2 separate regions of the Homo sapiens genome follow, and region 1 is linked to region 2. The links are contacts of gene promoters, found by promoter capture Hi-C in blood cells and fetal thymus (Javierre and others, 2016). All regions are on one chromosome and are shown on one strand. Each heading gives the region's core, a stretch centred on a gene start or on the middle of the fragment in contact. The rest is flanking DNA. Distances are from core to core; before and after follow the strand shown. Region 1 holds the start of ZNF714 (zinc finger protein 714). Region 2 holds the start of PBX4 (PBX homeobox 4).

Region 1 (6,658 bases), core at 2,161-4,660, 1.5 Mb after region 2:
TACAGGAATGCGCCACCACGTGCGGCTAATTTTGTATTTTTAGTAGACGGGGTTTCTCCATGTTGGTCAGGCTAGTCTTGAACTCCTGACCTCAGGTGATCCACCCGCCTCAGCCTCCCAAAGTGTTGGGATTACAGGCGTGAGCCACTGTGCCCAGCTGCCTATACCATTTTCTTTGAAAGTTGAAGTTTTAACTCCCTAATTAGGAAACATATTCATAAATGTGACTTGTAAATACTGAAATTTGTGTTTGCTTTTTCTGCCTTCAGTAGAAATGGTGTTTTCTAGCATCTATGTCTTTTTAAAATAAAAGAGAGGATGGAAGCAGAATAGGTTGAAAATGCTATTAACAAAATGATGTTGACAGAGATGATCTATCTGGTCTACCAGGGCATAAAAATTTCAAAAATCATAATCAGTACAAAACCTCTATGTCCGTTAATATTACAGAATATTGCTTGTGTTAAAATCATTTATGTTGGCCGGGCGCAGTGGCTCACGCCTGTAATCCCAGCACTTTGGGAGGCCGAGGCAGGCAGATCACGAGGTCAAGAGATCGAGACCATCCTGGCCAACATTGTGAAACCCCGTCTCTACTAAAAATACAAAAAAAAATTAGCTGGGCGTGGTGGCGCGTGCCCATAGTTCCAGCTACTTTGGAGGCTGAAGCAGGAGAATCGCTTGAACCTGGGAGGCGGAGGTTGCAGTGAGCCGAGATCGAGCCACTGCACTCCAGCCTGGGTGACAGAGCGAGACTCCGTCTCAAAAAAAAAAAAAAAAAAAAAAAAATTATGTTAAAAACTCTGCCTCGCCGAGTGCGGTGGCTCACGCCTGTAATCCCAACATTTTGGGACGCCAAAGCAGGCGGATAACGAGGTCAGCAGTTAGAGACCAGCCTGGCCAACATGGTGAAACCCCGTCTCTACTAAAAAGACAAAAAAGTAGCCGGGCGTTGTGGCGGGCGCCTGTAGTCCCAGCTACTCCGGAGGCTCAGGCAGGAGAATGGCGTGAACCCGGGAGGCGGAGCTTGCAGTGAGCTGAGATTGTGCCACTGCACTCCAGCGTGGGTGAGAGAGCGAGACTCCGTCTCAAAACAAACAAACAAACAAACAAAAAACAAAACAAAAAAACTCTGCCTCTCATGCATTTAGTAGAGATAAAGTCAGAGGGCAGAACCCTCCGCTGATCCTTATCAGGACACCTGAAGTACAGATGATATATTTCTGTTTTCTCTCAAACTCCATATTGGATACAGTTATTCTGCTTCTAATCCATATTATTACAGTAATGCACAGACACGGGATCATAAAAGAACTTGCAAGCTTTTTAAAAAAGTGTTATATTTTACACATGTGTGTATGTATTTGTAGACAGCTCTGTCATCTTGGCCAGAGTGCAGCTCAATCAAACCTCAAAATTCTTAGCTCTCAGCCTCCTTGGTAAATGGGACTTCACGTACACACCACTACAGTGGCTAATTAATTTTTTTTTTTTTTTTTTTTTTTTGTAGAGATGGGGTCTTATTATGTTGCCCAGGCAGCTCTTTTTTTTTTTTTTTTTTTTTTTGAGACAGAGTCTCCCTCTGTCGCCAGGCTGGAGTGCAGTGGCGCGATCTCGGCTCACTGTAACCTCCGCCTCCCGGGTTCAAACGATTCTCCTGCCTCGGCCCCCCGAGTAGCTGGGAATACAGGCGTGCGGCATCACACCCAGGTAAGTTTTTGTATTTTTGGTAGAGACAGGGTTTCACCTTGTTAGCCAGGATGGTCTCGGACTCCTGACCTCTTGATCCACCCACCTCGGACTCCCAAAGTGCTGGGATTGCAGGCGTGAGCCACCGTGCCTGGGCGATTCTATTTTATTCGTTGATCTTTTGTGGTGCTTTTACAATTTTACATCTACATATTATAAATCCAGTAACAAAGAGTCATAATTGTTGCTTTTAATAGTGATAGGTTGCTTTAAAACTGAAGGGTACAATTTAGTCAGATACTTTGGTGCTATGCAAATACAATGCTTATTTTTTAAGTGTTATTTACAATTTTTACACTCCTCAGTTAACCTTGGATACAATAATAACTGGTGGTTTTGTGATGGTTTCTTTAGCATTTTATCTATGTTGATTAGTATTTGGAATTCTGTAAAAAAAAATTTCCCTATCCTTTTTTCTTTTTTATTTATTTAAAGTTTTTTGTGTATCAGTGTAAATGCATGGGTATTTATTTATTTGACTTGATTTATTTTATAGGTCAGTGCTCTAATTATTCATTTGGATGCTAACATTGTTCCAGGATGGACCATTGGGAGTTCTTTCAGGCTGGCTCCCTTTGACATGTTCCCATCATTTTTTAAAATTAAAAAAAAAGAAAGAAAAAACATTTTGAGGCTGGGTGCGGTGGCTCACGCCTGTAATCCCAACACTTTGGGAGGCCAAAGCGGGCAGATCACCTGAGGTCAGGAGTTCAGGACCAGCCTGGCCAACATGGTGAAACCCCGTGTCTACTAAAAATACAAAAAATTAGCCGAGCATGGTGGCGCGCGCCTGTGATCTCATCCAGCAGTGCTTTACTTGTAATTATTTTATTCCTGCTGCCGTCTCCTCTTTCTTTGGCCACTATCTGTTCCACCCCCGGAACGGAAGAGAGATGTTGGTAGGGAGAGGCTCTTCCTTCACCTCTGGCAGAAAAGGTTTGCTTGGGCCCTTCACACCGCTGACATCAGAGCTGCACTTCAATGTGGCAGTTATTGGCCATGTGTGGCGCCTGGTCTGAAGTGCGATGCTAGAAAGGTAAAATACAGAGTTAGTTTCAAAGATTTAGTTCCAAATATTTATATACTTTATTAATAATTACATATTTCTCACACATTAAAATGAAAATTTTTTTGATATATTGGGTTAATTAAATTGTTACAATCAATTCAACCTGTTCTTGTTTCTTTTTCAAGTTTGGCTACTAGAAAACTTAAAATTCACATATGGCTCACATTTTATTTCAGAGGATTACCTCCTTTCTAAAATCTCAGCCTGCCTGCTCAAAGACCAGAAAGAAGCCAGGAAGGTCATAAAATCTGAAATTTTAAAATAATTGTTATTATAAAATTATATTTTTTCCTTTGTGAAGAGCCATATATTATTTATAAATGCATATGACTTTACACACAAGTTTAAAGGCAAATTCCCTCTGGGGTGGGCCTGGCTCAGCTCTGGGAGGAAGCCCTGCCTGAGAAGGCTGCAGCCTAGGCTGTCACCCTTTCTTCACTCAGCCCAGCAACTGATCACATCTTCTGTCACTCAGGGCACGAGAAGGTGGGGTTTTAAAAGTTATCCAATCAGCGACGCTGGGTTGGGAACCGTCCAATCAGGCCTGCAGCTGGAGCGGACAGGACGGCTTCGGGGATGTGGCGGGGCCTTTGTCTCTCGCTGCAGCTGGAGCTGCAGGTCTCGCCTTCACTGCCCTGTGTCCTCTGCTCGCAGAGGCCCAGCCTCTGTGGCCCTGTGACCTGCAGGTATTGAGAGATCCACAGCTAAGACGCCAGGTACCCCGGAAGCCTAGAAATGGTGAGAGTGCCGGGTCCGACATCCCGAGAGAGGGGAAGGGGCGGGTTGTAAGCGGTGGGAAGTGGCTGTGGTGGGACTTAGGCCTCCCCGCAGTCAACTCTACAATCTGCGCCCGGAGTTCTCCTTGCTCAGCTCGGCCTCAGTCCCCTTCAGCCATAAGATGGCGGCTGCGCTGACTGCGGGATCCCGGGCGTCCTGTCTTTTCCCTGCGCAGTGACTGGGCCCTGACCTGGAGTCCTCTCAGGGCAGCTCTGGACCCTCAGCGGCGCGTCTCTCCCGGATTGTGCAGGGACCACTGGAGGGTCCCAGGGGTAGAATCCTGACTCGGGGTGCGGGTTTATGAATGGGTCCGTGGGGTTCCAGTTCCTCTTCTGTTGAAAATGTATGGGAGTCACCGTTAAAACACTAAAGCATTTAATCAAAGCGTGATTCAAAAATTGTGGAGCACCCAGCTGTGGTTTGTAATTTATGGTTTATGGGCGGGGCTTGAAGTAAAGACTTTTATAAACAGCATGATGAAGAAAACCAAATTCAGTAATTGGTTAGGTTCAGATACATAGTTTCTTAATTTGTAAAATAAAGGTGAAAATTTCCTGGTTATGTAATTAGATGTTAATTGGCAGTTTATAGTTGGTTAAGGATGAATTTTGTTTCTCTCAATGTAGTAATTTACTAAAAATGCACCTCAGTTAGATTTTTTTTTTTTAAGATGGAGTTTCGCTCTTGTTGCCCAGGCTGGAGTGCAATGGGGCGATCTTGTCTCACCGTAACCTCTGCCTCCCGGGTTCAAGCGATCCAATGCTTCAGCCTCCCAGGTAGCTGGGATTACAGGCATGCGCCACCACGCCCGTCTAATTTTGTGGTTTTAGTAGAGACGGGTTTCTGCATGTTGGTCAGGCTGGTCTCGAACTCCCGACCTCAGGTGATCTGCCCTCCACGGCCTCCCCAAAGTGCTGGGATTACAGGCGTGAGCCACCGCGCCCAGCCAGATTTTTTTAAAAGTAGGAATCCAGGGACTAGAGACACCTCAGTCTAATTTCCCGCCGCTTAATTATTTTCACACTCCATGGGGAACTGATTTTCTGGTGCATTTTTCAACTGTGTCCCAAGCACTGTCTTAAATCTAACCTCCCGTCCCCCATATCTCCAGCCTCACTCTGGCTTGCAGTAAGATATTAAATTTCCAGTTCCTCCTGGCATTCCCTAATGCCAGCTTTTCCTCCCTAATTCACGTTATCACCTGTTTGTCTTTTAGTGTACTTTTGTATACCATATTTTAATTAATTATTTTTTGACAAAGCTTTAAATGACGCTTTTTAAAAGGTTTGTTACCTGTTTGTAACTTTCCCATGAGAAGAAAGCAAAGAATAATCCCCTGACACTGTATTGTAAAATTTCTCTGTGCCTCTTCTCCTTGTATCTTCTCTAGGTACAAAGATCTTGTCAGAATGTTTTTGGGTCAAGGTATTCCTTTGAAACCTTTATGAGGTGATGTGTCCTCAGCCACCCTTTAGTTTTTTTCTGGTCGTGGGTTTCAGTACTGTCTGGGGATCAACCAAGATATCCACCATGGTTATGTCAGCTAAAGTGCCTAGTGAATATCAGCTTCTGGTTTATTTTCTTCCATAGGGCGACCTGAGGTCTGGAGTGTATCCTCTCAAGGGAGCAAGTGGATCCCTGGGGCAGAGAGGAAGCTTCTAGTGTACTCTTACTTTGAAAAGGTAATCAGATGCTGGTACTGAGGGGAAAACACAGAAATAACATCTGCCTCCTGGATTGTCTAAGGGGTAGAAATATAATGAAATAAATGTAGTGAAAGAAAAAATAGTGTTAAAAAGAAAAAAAAATTGTGACAGAAAAAATAGTATCCCAAAAGACCAAAAAAGAAAAAAAAAATCAAGCAAACAAACAAAAAACACAAAAAACCTGACTCCAGCAGTCAGGATTTTTTCCAGCAGTTCCATTAGCACTTAAGTTTTCCCTTTTGGAGAAGAAAAAGATCCCCATGTCCTATGGTCTTGTAGATGCCTAATTCTGTCACCCATAGCCATCAGCAAGGTTAACTGAGATGGTGTAAGAGCTTGCAAAGTAAAATGCCTCTGGAGCAGCCACCGAGAAATACTGCAGTGTCTCCTGAATGGGTGCTTCTTGAGCACATAAGTGAGTAGGAGTGGGTGGAAGAATCTCTCAAGTGACTGAATAGCCTGACTTGAAACATGAGTCACACACATCTGTTATTTAACCATCATTGCCACTTCTGGATTTGTCACCTTGAAGAGATTTGTTCACTTATTTTGACCTCAGTTTTTTAGCTGTAAATTGCATTATATTAGTAGGGCTTGAAAGGTAGGAAATTTTTTTTTTTTTTTTTTTTGAGACAGTTTCACTCTTGTTGCCCAGGCTGGAGTGCAGTGGTATGATCTCGGCTCACTGCAACCTCCACCTCCTGGGTTCAAGTGATTTTCCTGCCTCAGCTGGCCAGGCTGGTCTCAAACTCCTGACCTCAGATGATCTGCCCTCCTTGGCCTCCCAAAGTGCTGGGATAACAGGTGTGAGCCACCACGCCCGGCCAGCAGGAAAATATTTACAAAGGGCATAAAAGAGATGGGTTTTAGAAAAAGAAATTAATGCTTAATTATATATTCCATTTGTTAAAAATTCTCATTTACCTTTTTCTTTCCCAGAGTGAGTTTAAAAGGTTTCTCAGGTGTGTTTGTTTTTTATGGCTAGGTGAATTCAAACAGAATTTCAAGGCTCAGCTTTTAGAATGCTAGCTACCGAGGAAAAGAATAGGGAAAATCTCTATTCTATTTTGGCTGTAGAAAATGAATACATGTCCATAAGAAAATGTGGTAGATAATTGGTGAGTAAACATAGATTCATGAAAACATCAGTTGCTCTATCTGCAGGATAGGATTTTTGACAGTGAATATCTGTGTTCACATCCTGTTATCTTGATTTCTGAGTTTCATGCTACATTTTATGAGATGAAACTTGGTACCACCTAGAAGTGTTCCCATATGACTAATTGTTTACTACATGATTTTTAATGAAAACAATACAATAATAGATATATTTTCATAAAGGAGTAGATACTTTTGC
Region 2 (6,352 bases), core at 1,290-3,789:
ACTGCAGGACCCAGACACAGTGGGCTGCCTTGTGAAGCAGATTCTACGGATCCTGGCTGGCTGACAAGTGGTGAGTGGAGGTAAACGGGATGGGAGGTCTAAAAACTCCTTTATTTTTCCCCATTGCAACTGGAATAAATAGTCCGAACTCCCTATTGATTGTTATCCAGATGACAAAAACAAAACTATTTTTTTATGGAGACAGAGTCTCACTCTGTCGCCCAGGTTGGAATGCAGTGGCGCTTGAACCCAGGCACCTCCTGGATTCAAGTGTTTCTCCTGCCTCAGCCTCCCAAGTAGCTGGGACCATAGACATGCACCACCACGCCCAGCTAATTTTCGTATTTTTAGTAGAGATGGGGTTTTGCCATGTTGGCCAGGCTGGTCTCGAACTCTTGACCTCAGGTGATCTGCCCACCTTGGCCTCCCAAAGTGCAGGGATTACAGGTGTCAGCCACTGTGCCTGGCTGAACAAACAAAACTCTTTACTGAGATTCGTAGGCCCCATGTAATTGGGTTCCAGTCTCCCTTTATTATTATTATTATTTTTTGTTCAGACGGAATCTCGCTCTGTCGCCCAGGCTGGAGTGCAGTGGTGTGATCTCGGCTCACTGCAGCCTCCGCCTCCCAGGTTCCAGTGATTCTCCTGCCTCAGCCTCCCAAGTAGTTGGGATTATAGGTGTGCACCACTACACCCAGCTAATTTTTGTATTTTTGGTAGAGACTGGGTTTCACCATGTTGGCCAGGCTGGTATTGAACTCCTGACCTCGTGATTCACCTGCCTTGGCCTCCCAAAGTGCTGGGATTACAGGCGTGAGCCACCGCACCTGGCCCCAGCCTTCCTTTAAACTCAACTCTTTCCCTCCCTGGCTAGGAACTTTCTCTTCCCAGCCAGACTCCGCTTTTTACATCCTCTTTCCCACCTCAGGGCCTCTGAAGGTGCTGTCCTCTCCAAAGATGTTCTTCTCCACCTGGCTTCCTATAGCATGCAACCCCTATCCCTACAGCTTTTATTGCCATTTATTTTATTTTTTTCTTTTCTCAGATTGGTACAGGATGGTCTCACTATGTTGCCCAGGCTGGTCTCAAACTGCTGGACTCAAGTGATCCTCCCACTGGGAGGCAGCTGGGATTACCTACCCATGCTACCATGCCTGGCTTATACTTTTTTGCTTTTGTTTGAGACAGGGTCTAGCTCTGTCACCCAGGCTGGAGTGCAATGGCTTGATTCGGCTCACTGCAGCCTCAGCCTCCTAAGTAGCTGGGACTACAGGCTTGCATCATCACACCTAACTAATTTTTTAATTTTATTTTTAGTAGAGACGAGGTCTTACTACATTGTCCAGGTTGGTCTCGAACTCCTGAGCTCAAGCAATCCTCCTGCCTCAGCCTCCTAAAGTGCTGTGATTAGAGATGTGAGCCACTCCACCCAGTCCTTATTTTTTGCTATTTACATTCCCTCCCCTAAATCATGTACTCGAGAGCAGGGACTATGTCAGCACCCGGTTCCCTATCCAGTTATTGTAAGGATTCAATAAAAATTTGCTGAATTCATTAAAAAGAAAATAGGTCTTCCATCTCCACCCACTCCTCTACTAACCCTTTTCCCAAAAGTTCTCGATGGTTCCCACACCAAGTTACCCCAGTTCAGTTCTTCAGTCTCCTGCAGACATTCCTGAGTCCCATTCCCAGCCACTCACTCTCCATCATCTGCCCTGGAAACTTCCCACCCACAGGCCGGGCTCGGTGGCTCGCGCCTGTAATCCCAGCACTTAGGGAGGCCGAGACGGAATGAGTGCTTGAACCCAGGAGTTTAAGCAACTATAGCGAGACCCCTGTCTCTACAAAATATACAAAAAAATCAGCCGGGCGTGGTTGCACGTGCGCCTGTGGTCCCAGCTACTCGGGAGGCTGAGGCAGGAGAATCAACTGAGCCGGGGAGGTGGATGCTGCAGTGAGCCATGATCACGCCACTGCACTCCAGCCTGGGCGACAGAGCAAGACCGTGTCAAACAACAACAAAAAAACTTCCAGCCGCAGGAGTCCCATTAACGTACCCATTTAGTCATTCACTCGTCAAAAGTCCCGTACGTGCCCATTTCTCAGCCCTACTCCCTAAACCCCTAAACCCAACCTTCTCGCCCCAAGATGAGCTGCTGAAAATCCTTCACGCCACTGCTCGGCCCCATAAGGCCTATCCAGCCCGTTCCGTTTGAACCCCATACATCCCTTCGTCCTCGGGACCCCCCTCCAGCCCTCCTCAAGCGCCCCTCGTCAGTCTGGCCTCCACGCCCCGTCCCCTCAGCCCGCCAACCTCACTGCCACGACCCTGCGTGGCCCCTGCCGAGCCCGCGGGCAGCACCTGGCCTGTGCCTCGTCCAGGCTCTGGTCGGTGATGGCCATGATCTGCTGCAGGACGTCGCTCGTGTCGAGGCGCCGCGGGGCGGGGGGCGATGGCGCGGGGCGCGGCGGGGCGGCCATGAGCGGCAGGGCCGGGCGGGCGCTGTGAGGGTGCCGTCGAGCCTGGAGCACTACCACTGGCGCCGCAGCCAACCGCCGCTGCCTGAGCGCCGCGCCCGCTCTCGCTCGCGCCTAAGCCACGCCCACCGCCGCTATCGCCAGCCAACCCGTGTATTGCACCGCCTACAGACACGCCCCTTCATCTCCGTCAGCCAACCGGCGCCACGCACCGCCCCCGGGACTCGCCCCGAACTTCCCCCTCTCCGGGCTTGGACTGGGTTTGGGGTTGCCGAGGCAACGGCACTTCTCATAAGCGCCCTCCTTCCCCTTGAGAGAGGGCAGCGCTGGCTCCGCTCCAGCCAGAGGCCCCCATCCCTCACATCTCGCGCGGTGCACGCCTCCTTCAGCCCCACTCGCATCTCCTCAGAGTTCCTGCTCCTCCTCAGGGCCCCCTTCTCCTCAAAGCCCTCGGTCCTCAGAGACCCTCACTCCCCAGAGCACCCCAACTCTTCCTCCAAGCCACCCCCTCCTCCTCAGAACCCCACACCTCTTATAGCTTGATCGACAGCCCCCATTCATTTCCAGAAGCCCCAAGCCCCAGACCCCTGCTCAGTCCCCCTAATGCTCCCTGCATCCTCAGCCCCATCAGGTGGGCCACTGGGGCCCCTGGCTCTTCCTCTAGAGCTTTCCACGCCCCGTTCACCTGGCTAAGGCGGGGCGCAGGCGTGCGTGGTTGATGGCAACGAGGAGGTCAGAACGCAGCGCTTTTCTCCACTGCAGAAATCAATTCCAGTCACCTTTCAAGGTCCAGCTGAAGAGTGACCTCGCTTGTTTATTCATCTTCGCAGATTACAGTTCTGGGCATAGAAAATGCTACCACGTGGTTACCGAATGAAGGAAGGATGTTTACTGAGAGACTCCCCTGCAGTGTACCCCAAATCAGAGCGAATCCTCACATCTTTGTTTCTAGTCCTTAGGACACAGCATCGAAGGCTCCTAGTGCACAAGAAAAGGAACTGGGCGGTGGCTCATGCCTGTAATCCTAGCACTTTGGGCGGCAGAGGCGGGAGGATCACTTGAGCACGGGAGTTTGAGACCAGCTTGGGCAACATAGTGAGACCCCGTGGTGGTGCACGCCTGTGGTCCCAGCTATTTGGGACTTGAGAGGCTGAAGTGGGAGGATCACTTGGGCCTGGGAATTTGAGGCTGCAGTGAGCCATGATTGCACCACTGCACTGCAGCCTGGTTGACGGAGACCAGGTCTCAAAAAAAAAAAAAAAAAAAAAAAGTAATGGCCTGGACATGAATCTCTTCTCCAAAGTCACAGAACCTCCTGGAGCCTATTTGCTATGAGGACAGTCTCCAGATGTGGGCTCAGTAAAAGGTCCTCAGCCTGCTGGCTGGGAGCCCTTCCAGGGTGGGGCCCACGTTCTCTCCATTGCTGCTGGGGAGGAAATTCAAACACCATCTGGTATGGCTGGATTGGAGAGCGTCGGGAGACTCCAAAGGGGACGGCAGGGAGTGAAAAATGAAAGACATTGACCGAGTGTCTGGACAATAGGGAAAGCTCTCTGATGAAGGAAACCGACACTTGGCTCCAATGACAGAAAGTAATAGATTGCATGGGAGCCACGGAGACCAGTGCCTGTTCAAAAGGTCACCCACAAGCACAGCACTGCCCAGGAGGCCTGAACAGTAGTGGCCTTCAGGCTGGGTGCAGTGGCTGACACCTATGATCCCAACACTTTGGGAGTCTGAGGTGGGAGATTACTTGAGCCCAGGAGTTCAAGACCAGTCTGGGGAACATAGTGAGACCCCATCTCTACAAAAATAAAAATTAAAAAAATAGCTAAATTAGCTGGTCATGGTCCCAGCTACTTGGGAGGCTGAGGCGGGAGGATAAGTTGGGCTCAGGAGGTCGAGGCTACAGTGAGCTGTGTTTGTGCCACTGCACTCCAGCCTGGGTGAGAGAGCAAAACCTGCCCCCAACCCCAACAAAGTAGTATCCTTCAGAGAACTTGGAGGGGTGGGCACTGAAAGCTTCAGGGACCAGCAGAGACAAAAATTTGAAGCCACTTGGTGGAGACGGGAGATCGACAAGAGGAAATGGTCTCGAAGGAGACCCACGGGGTGCAGGTTAAAACCTGGAGGAGCTGATGTGAACAGCCAGCTCAGAGCGCCTGAGACAGAGTTGCCTTTTTTTTTTTTTTTTTTTTTTAGACAGAAATCTTACTCTGTTGCCCAGGCTGGAGTGTAGTGGCGTGACCTTGGCTCACTGCAACCTCCACCTCCTGGGTTCAAGCACTTCTCCTGCCTTAGCCTCCTCCTGAGTAGCTTACAGGCACCCACCACCACGCCCGGCTAATTTTTGCATTTTTAGTAGAAATGAGGTTTCACCATGTTGGCCAGGCTAGTTTCAAACTTCTGACCTCAGGTGATCTGCCTGCCTCGGCCGCCCAAAGTGCTGGGATTACAGGTATGAGCCACCTCACCCGTCCCACTGTTGCCATTTGGAGGTCATCAGGGGTCTCTACTGCATAGAAATTAGTTGGCAGCCTTGGCACTCAAAGTGCTCGGCCAGGGCCATTTAATATAGAAGGACCTGGGAGTTTTGGGTTCTTTGACAATGCATATTTCAGTGGTTTAAGAATTTGGCACAGGTGGCTGGGCATGGCGGCTCACATCTCTGAGTGACCTGGGTTCAAATTCTAGCTGTTATTCAGCATGGGATTCAAAAGTAGGGACATAACCCCACCTCCTCACTGGTGAGGTGGGAGCAGAGAATGACATCCTGGCACACACTGTGCCTTGGAGGGGGCCTCCCTGAGCATCTCAGAGGGGGCTCATGATGGATCTGGCACTCATGGGTTGGGTGCTGTGGGGTGAGGTAGGGAAAGCCCAGCTGAGCTTGGGACCAACCCTGGGCTTCGTGGGAATCTGAAGTCCCTTTCCTAGGGGCCTCTCTGGTCCCTCGGGGCCTGTATGTGCCATCTCCAAGCTGTGTTTACCATGGGCCAGATCACAACCTGTCTGAATCAGTGTTCTCACATAAAAATCAGAAAGACTGATCCCAGCACTTTGGGAGGCCAAAGCAGGCGGATCATGAGGTCAGGAGTTCAAGACCAGCCTGGCCAATATGGTGAAATCCCATCTCTATTAAAATACAAAAAATTAGCCAGACATGGTGGTGCATGCCTGTAGTCCCAGCTACTTGGGAGGCTGAGGCAGAAGAATCGCTTGAACCTGGAGGGGGCGGAGGTTGCAGTGAGCTGAGATCATGTGAGACTCTGTCTCAAAAAAAAAAAAAAAAAAAAAAGGCCAGGCATGGCGGCTCACGCCTATAGTCCCAGCACTTTGAGAGGCTGAGGCGGGCGGCTCACCTGAGGTCAGGAGTTCGAGACCAGCCTGGCCAACATGGTGAAACCCCATCTCTACTAAAAATAAAAAATTTAGCTGGGTGTGGTGGCATATCCCTGTAATCCCAGCTACCCGGGAGGCTGATGCAGGAGAATCACTTGAACCTGGGAGGCAGAGGTTGCAGTGAGCTGAGATCACGTCATTGCAGTCCAGCCTGGGAAACAGAGCAAGACTCCGTCTCAAAAAAAAAAAAAAAAAAAAGCCCAGCACAGTGGCTCATGCCTGTAATCCCAGCACTTTGAGAGGCCGAGGCGGGTGGATCACAAGGTCGGGAGTTCAAGATAAGCCTGGCCAAGATGGTGAAACCCCATCTCTAACAAAAATACAAAAATTAGCCGGGCACGGTGGCAGGTGCCTGTAATCGCAACTACTTGGGAGGCTGAGGCAGGAGAATCGCTTGAAACCCGGGGGCGGAGGTTGCAGCGAGCCGAGATTGCACCACTACACTCCAGCCTGGAGGACAGAGTGACACTC

What was found. Contacts are between HindIII fragments. The CHiCAGO score rates a contact against its expected background, and 5 or more counts as called.
Region 1: a contact is called between the fragment with the promoter of ZNF714 here and the fragment with the promoter of PBX4 in region 2, in 1 of 17 cell types (M0 macrophages). The highest score is 5.1, in M0 macrophages.

The regions. Positions count from the first base shown.
Region 1 is chr19:21,078,793-21,085,450 of GRCh38, forward strand. It overlaps ZNF714 (zinc finger protein 714), which reads left to right and starts at 3,411. Exons shown (of 5, transcript NM_182515.4): 1 at 3,411-3,556; 2 at 5,186-5,277. RefSeq lists an enhancer at 3,750-3,899. The HindIII fragment of the contact is 3,534 bases long and covers 1,321-4,854 here.
Region 2 is chr19:19,616,148-19,622,499 of GRCh38, forward strand. It overlaps PBX4 (PBX homeobox 4), which reads right to left and starts at 2,540. Exons shown (of 8, transcript NM_025245.3): 1 at 2,364-2,540. The coding sequence starts at 2,482. RefSeq lists a silencer at 2,322-2,531. The HindIII fragment of the contact is 7,939 bases long and covers 1-4,499 here.